2 separate regions of the Homo sapiens genome follow, and region 1 is linked to region 2. Evidence: promoter capture Hi-C in 16 types of primary human blood cells and fetal thymus (Javierre and others, 2016). All regions are on one chromosome and are shown on one strand. The core of a region is centred on a gene start or on the middle of the fragment in contact, and the rest is flanking DNA. Distances in the headings are between cores, read along the strand shown. Region 1 has its middle 29 kb from the start of LINC00113. Region 2 holds the start of ADAMTS5 (ADAM metallopeptidase with thrombospondin type 1 motif 5).

The links. Contacts are between HindIII fragments. The CHiCAGO score rates a contact against its expected background, and 5 or more counts as called.
Region 1: a fragment that was not itself captured here is called in contact with the fragment with the promoter of ADAMTS5 in region 2 in 1 of 17 cell types (endothelial precursors); the score reaches 5.8 in endothelial precursors.

Annotation. Positions count from the first base shown.
Region 1 is chr21:27,691,911-27,695,551 of GRCh38, reverse strand. No RefSeq gene overlaps it. Among named protein-coding and RNA genes, the nearest start is that of LINC00113, 29 kb to the left of the region's middle. The HindIII fragment of the contact is 1,510 bases long and covers 1,308-2,817 here.
Region 2 is chr21:26,964,921-26,968,385 of GRCh38, reverse strand. ADAMTS5 (ADAM metallopeptidase with thrombospondin type 1 motif 5) reads left to right here and starts at 1,298. Exons shown (of 8, transcript NM_007038.5): 1 at 1,298-3,098. The coding sequence starts at 1,995. LOC124905050 reads left to right here. Exons shown (of 3, transcript XM_047441063.1): 2 at 416-942; 3 at 1,302-1,730. The coding sequence ends at 1,730. The HindIII fragment of the contact is 6,499 bases long and covers 1-3,465 here.

The sequences.
Region 1 (3,641 bases), core at 813-3,312, 730 kb before region 2:
GAGAAGAAAGGAAAAAGAAAGGGAAAGAAAGAAAAGAAAGAAAGAAAGAGGGAGAGAGGAAGGCAGGCAAGAAAGAAAGACAAGAAAGCAAGAAGGAAAGAAGGAAGGAAAAGAGAAAGAAAGAAAGAAAAAAAAGAGAGAGGAAGGGAGGGAGGGAGAGAGGAAGGGAGGGAGGGAGGAAGGAAGGAAGGAAGGAGAGAAAGACAAGAAAGCAAGAAAGCAAGAAGGAAGGAAGGAAGGAAAAGAGAAAGAAAGAAAAGGAAAGGAAAGAGAGAGGAAGGAAGGGAGGGAGGGAGGAAGGAAGGAAGGAAGGAAGGACGGACGAGAGCTTCATAAAAATTTTCTGGTTTTAAAGTTATTTTATTTTTCTTAAAAATTTCTTTAAATAAATAGTCTGTTAGAGGTATTAATGTGTGTCACTCTTGCTTGGAATGAGGTTTATAAAGGGCACATGTTATTGTGTTTCTCTTCTGGGTAAAATTCTCTGATGATTCTCAGTTTCTGCAGGATAGAATCTTTGCCTGACACCGGGGTCCTTAGGTCGGATCCCTGCCTAGGTCTACAGCCTCATCTCCATTCACATTCCACTCCTCTTAGGCAGTGCATGTTTTATCTCTAAGTTCTTCCCAGCATCATCCTGGGAACTTTGAGTTTCACCAATTTTCCCTGGTGGAGAAACACCGTAAATGGGAATGCCGTGCAGACCTGAGATTATGTGACTCTACCATCAAGACTCAAAGGAGCTTTATTTGAAATAAAGGAGCTAGTGGTTGTGTGGGTGTAAATTAGATGATGTAATCTGTCAGCTCAGTTATTTTTATTCACCACTCTCTTAACACATTTCAGTTTTAAGGGGGGGAGTGGGTTCAACTATGTAAAGTCATTGCTTTTATTTTAGCCAATTCAGAATAGTAGACTTCTAAATCGGGAAAGATCTCAGAAGACTTTTTTTCTTTATAATTGAGATATTTGCTATTTGTGTTCTTTGGGTGGAAAAAATGATTTAATGACGCATTTTTATTTAAAAAAGTGCCATTTTATCTGTATAAGAGGAAGATGTGATTGAAGTGTTATTTTAACACTCCTTCTATTAAAATTATAAAAACATTATATAATATGCTTTTAAAAAGTAGTGAATAAATGTGGTTGTTATATGAACACAAATATGTAGGCAATCAGCATGTCATGAGAATTATTAAATAAATTAAAATATTTGCAATATAATTTACATAATTCAGCAGTTGTATGTTAATCACGTAGTTGTCAGAAATAACTTCATTTTTTAACTTTTGTTTGATGTTTAAGCTTTTGTTAGTCTAATTATTTTCACACTTTTCTTTCAATATTTCTAACTTCATAAATATTGATAAGTAAATTAAAATCAAATCCTCACATCTAGAAACTGCTGATAATTCAAACAAAATTATTTTTTTCACAAAAAAGTGTTTTAAAATGTCATTAACTCAGTTAAAAAATAGAACTACCAAGTTAGTTTATAAAATATGAATTAATATAATTATAAAAGTATAGTCTATGTCTTTATTTTTATTTTAGAGACTAATACCTTTTGTGTTATTAAATATAATTTCTGTTTTTTGCAATATCTCTGAACTCTCATGTCCCCCAGCAGCATACCCATCCCCCAACACCTACAAACAATGACAATAACCCTTTCCTGTACTCCAGTGAATTCGATGCCTTCGTAACACTAACTGATATCAAAGGAACAGGATTCCTCAAGTTGATCATGGTAGAAAAAAATTAGTTGAAAATTTAGGCACAAAAAATTCAAAACAGTTTCATCAGAATGTTTTTGTTTTCACTTCTTCGGGTACATAAGTGTCCCCTGTTCATTTTCAGTAATATCCACCAAACCAACGGCATCTCCTCTAAGTGAGGTCACCGCAGAAATCAAAAAACACACTACTAGCTTGTGAGGACTTGTCTGGATGGTTTTATTAGCAGGATGTGTCACTACCAACCCTTGGTCTGATGTGAAATTGAGTTTCGAAATGACACATATTTCCTGGATTCTCCAGTTAACCAGAGATTTCTTTCGGGCTTTCCCTTTTTTTTTCTCCCTTAGGCATCTGTAGAAGAAAGAAAAAAGCAAAGTACTCCAAAAGACTTAAAGAAGCAGAATCAATTGTCTAATTTTATTCGAAAGGTTTTCTCTCTGCTGTTCTCACTATCTCCAATAAGGTCTGCCCAGTTCTCCTAGTAAGGAAAACTGGCTGACAAATAGTGGGCCAGGGAAGAGCATTGGAAGGCCACCAAATGTTAGTTATTGCTCCAGGCGAGAAAGGCTAGCAGCGGTCTCAGCTGTAGCGGTATAAAGGAACAAGTGATGGGGATGGTTGGATGGTAACAGACCTATGGGACAATGGAAATATTAAACTGCTGGTAGACAATGATAAAATAAAACATTGTTATCTCTCTATGGTCAGAGAAAGAAGAGCTAAAAGGTTAATTACGGTCTCTTTGAGGGATGAATATGTATATGAAAATTACATAACTGTGGTCTATTGTCATATTTTTATGATTTTGTGACTTTTACTTATCTAAAAGGGGAATAGTTTGAAGCCAGACTTCTAAACGGTGAGTTCCTGATTTTTGCACTTTGAAGGAAATCAAAGTAGGCACCTGTTCACAAGGTAGCCATATGAATCCTTCCTTTCCCATTAGGATACTTTCTTTATCAGCATTACTTCTGCAGTAGGTCTTACTGCTACATTTACAAGTTTCTGGAATGAGGGTGGTATTCATGTAATTGAGCCAGTCTAATCCTTTTGGATTGATTTTTAAAAGCAATAAGCTTTTAAAGTCATGAAGGATTTATGAATCCTTCCTTTCTCATTAGGATACCTTATTTCTATTGAAACGTTATTTCAGAATAGCATGCCTCTCCTCATTTTCCCCAGCATCATCATACACACTCACATGCAAAGTGCTGCAACTTTAGTGGAGCAATAGAATAGAGAGCTACATGTGTGCTAAACTGCTTAGACAGAAGAGAAATTATTTGTACAGACAAGAGGCAGAGAGAAAGCCAACATCAGGACCATTTTCTGCCTCGGTAATCTACTCAGGTTACTTTATGCCTAAAGACAACGCCCAGGAGAGCAAACTGAAGCTCCAGCATGGATTCACTGGAGCCCCTGGTGACATGGACATGAAAGAAAAATGTAATTACTCAATCAGAAATTATATACTGGAAAATTCTGAAAAAAAACTGGCAAGTAAAAACAATGAAAAGCTGTTTATTTTACAGCTTTTTCTATATGCCCAATTAATGTGCTCGTAAAGGTAAGTGACACCTCTGCGTGATTGTCCAAAATGTATATTAAATTACTAGGTCATAGATTACACCTGTAGTGAGTCTTATTGCTAACCCTACAAGTTGCTGGAATGAAGGTGGTATTCATATAATTGAGCCAGTCTAATCTTTTTGGATTGATTTTTAAAAGCAATAGGAAATTAAAACATAATTATTTGTTGAAAAATTTTGAAAAAATTACAATGGCTAGAAATAAAGGAGAAGCATCACGTTTTTAGTCTTACTACCTTTGTAGGTGGGATATAACAAAATTTAAATAATATTTATCCACTTCATTAAGTTATTTATTGGTAACAAATTAGCA
Region 2 (3,465 bases), core at 49-2,548:
AGAATAATTTGGGCATGGAGGGAGCTCTTACCCCTACAGTAGAAGGTAGACCTTCTAACCATAAGTCGTCGGGTTTTCCTTCTCCCTTCTTAGAATGATAATTAGAGGAAACAAAGAGGTCAGAGGAAACGAGTAGCAGTGATAATGTCACCCGCGTACTAATAAGCACCAATCTTCCTTCCGCCAAAAGTATTCTTTTTCTTCTAAAAGGAATTTCTGAGAATGAAGGTAGGTCAAGGCCTATGGCGATAAGTGGTTGCTTTAGAAGAGACAAAAACAGATATAGGAATTTATTATTAAAGTATCATTTAAGCAAAAAATAAAAGTATGAGCGCAAAATTTTAAAATCTTTCAGGGAAAAAAAATGAGCGGAATTCCCTCTAAGAGTTAACTCTTTCTCGCTCTGCCTTTTTAGAGCAAAGGAAGTTCCAGTGGGCTGGGAGTAAGGGACAGATTGTGGACCCTGACGAAAGGCGTGCTGGAGAAAGCTGGGAGCCCGCCGTTCGCACACAAAGCTGCGGAGTTCCCAAGCGGCGGGCGTTCTCGCCCCGGGGTACCGCAGCGCGCCAGGAAGCGCCCTGGGCTCTCTGGCTGTCCAGCCGCTCTGCTGGTGGCCGGGAGAAGTTAGTCACCCGGAGCCCGAATCCGGCGAGCGTCAAAGCATCAAGAGGCTGGAGAATGGGGAGGGAGGAAACCGGGTGCCGGGACGGAGGGGAGGAAGCGAAGGGAACGCGGTGGTTAGGGGACGCACGGGAAGCTGAAAAGCTCTGGCTGGTGGATGGAGTTGCACGGTCTGCGAGGCCAGAGCGCACGGGTGTGCAAAGGGGAAAAACTTGCGGCAGGAACTTCCCACCGAGGGCGAGAAAAGCAGGCAAGAAGGAGGCAGGGAGAGACTTGAAACGTCTCAATAACTTTAACCAAAACACCCGTTCAGGAGATGAGGTAAGCCAAGGTTAGCCAACCCCAATTGGTTGTGAAATATCAGACAGACCCGGAGCCGCTGTGGCTTTAAAAGTGGCCAAGGAAATCTGTTTTTCTTGCCCCATTACTTTTTATTTTCCCCTCTCCCCTCCTACCACCTCGCCGGGTCCCAGTCCCTTCCTCCTACTTCGTCTCCCTTTCCTCGATCACCCTCCTCTTTTGCCCTCCCCCATCTGATTAGGCGCGGACTGGGAAGGGTGGGAGTGGTGGGGGAAGCTCTCCCTTTAAGAGGCAGCGTGCAGTGACGAACTGTTGAAATTGCCATTGCAGGATGGCATGCCGCTATAAATTCATTGTTCCACCTCCTCGCATCTTCACAGCGCTCGCGCTGCTCTCGGCGCTCGCAGCTGCCGACTGGGGATGACGGCGGGCAGGAGGAGACCGCAGCCGAAGGGACACAGACACGCCGCTTCACCAGCTCGCCTCAGGCTGCCCCCCTGCATTTTTGTTTTAATTTTTACGGCTTTTTCCCCTCTCTTTCTTCCCTTCCTCCTGGTCCCAGCAGAGCCAAGGAAACCCACAAAATAAGAAAGGAAGTGGGCCCCGGAGCTTGGAACCTCCACAGCCGGCTTGTCCAGCGCAGCGCGGGGGCGGGAGGCTGCGCGCACCAGTTGCCAGCCCGGTGCGCGGTACCTTTCCTTACTTTTCTTGAAACAGCGATCGTGCCTGCATTTGGTGGTTTTTTGGTTTTTGTTTTTTTCCTTTTCCCGTATTTGCTGAATCTCCACTATCCGACTTTTTTTTTTTAATCTTTTCTTTCCCCCCCCCCCCACCCCACCTCTTTCTGGAGCACGAATCCAAACATTTTCCCAAGCAACAAAGAAAAGTTCGCACGCTGGCACCGCAGCCCGGACAGGCTGGCGCTGCTGCCGGGCCCCCCTCCCTCCGACACTTGACTCAATCCTGCAAGCAAGTGTGTGTGTGTCCCCATCCCCCGCCCCGTTAACTTCATAGCAAATAACAAATACCCATAAAGTCCCAGTCGCGCAGCCCCTCCCCGCGGGCAGCGCACTATGCTGCTCGGGTGGGCGTCCCTGCTGCTGTGCGCGTTCCGCCTGCCCCTGGCCGCGGTCGGCCCCGCCGCGACACCTGCCCAGGATAAAGCCGGGCAGCCTCCGACTGCTGCAGCAGCCGCCCAGCCCCGCCGGCGGCAGGGGGAGGAGGTGCAGGAGCGAGCCGAGCCTCCCGGCCACCCGCACCCCCTGGCGCAGCGGCGCAGGAGCAAGGGGCTGGTGCAGAACATCGACCAACTCTACTCCGGCGGCGGCAAGGTGGGCTACCTCGTCTACGCGGGCGGCCGGAGGTTCCTCTTGGACCTGGAGCGAGATGGTTCGGTGGGCATTGCTGGCTTCGTGCCCGCAGGAGGCGGGACGAGTGCGCCCTGGCGCCACCGGAGCCACTGCTTCTATCGGGGCACAGTGGACGGTAGTCCCCGCTCTCTGGCTGTCTTTGACCTCTGTGGGGGTCTCGACGGCTTCTTCGCGGTCAAGCACGCGCGCTACACCCTAAAGCCACTGCTGCGCGGACCCTGGGCGGAGGAAGAAAAGGGGCGCGTGTACGGGGATGGGTCCGCACGGATCCTGCACGTCTACACCCGCGAGGGCTTCAGCTTCGAGGCCCTGCCGCCGCGCGCCAGCTGCGAAACCCCCGCGTCCACACCGGAGGCCCACGAGCATGCTCCGGCGCACAGCAACCCGAGCGGACGCGCAGCACTGGCCTCGCAGCTCTTGGACCAGTCCGCTCTCTCGCCCGCTGGGGGCTCAGGACCGCAGACGTGGTGGCGGCGGCGGCGCCGCTCCATCTCCCGGGCCCGCCAGGTGGAGCTGCTTCTGGTGGCTGACGCGTCCATGGCGCGGTTGTATGGCCGGGGCCTGCAGCATTACCTGCTGACCCTGGCCTCCATCGCCAATAGGCTGTACAGCCATGCTAGCATCGAGAACCACATCCGCCTGGCCGTGGTGAAGGTGGTGGTGCTAGGCGACAAGGACAAGAGCCTGGAAGTGAGCAAGAACGCTGCCACCACACTCAAGAACTTTTGCAAGTGGCAGCACCAACACAACCAGCTGGGAGATGACCATGAGGAGCACTACGATGCAGCTATCCTGTTTACTCGGGAGGTAGGTCCAGCCGGGATGCGGGGGTCCCAGCGCTGATATCAGGAGGTAGGTAGAAGGGAATCTTGCTGGTGGCTTTGCTTCTCCCTCAAACCTCCTGCAGCTGTGGATGTGTTTAACTGCTTCTTGCAGGAAATCCAACCAGCCTTCAACTCTGCTCCTGTATTCACGTTAGCCCCGCAGAAATTTTTGCCTTAAATGCCAAGACTTGCTTAGGTGATGATGAAGACCCAGTAGTGCTGCATGTCATCTAGTCTGAGGTGTTGTGGCATAGGAACGTAAACATAAGAAGGCACAAGGATGCTTGGGGAAATGATACAGTTAAATGGGGAAAAGGAAGGAAAACAAAGTTGCCTTTGGGATCATGGGT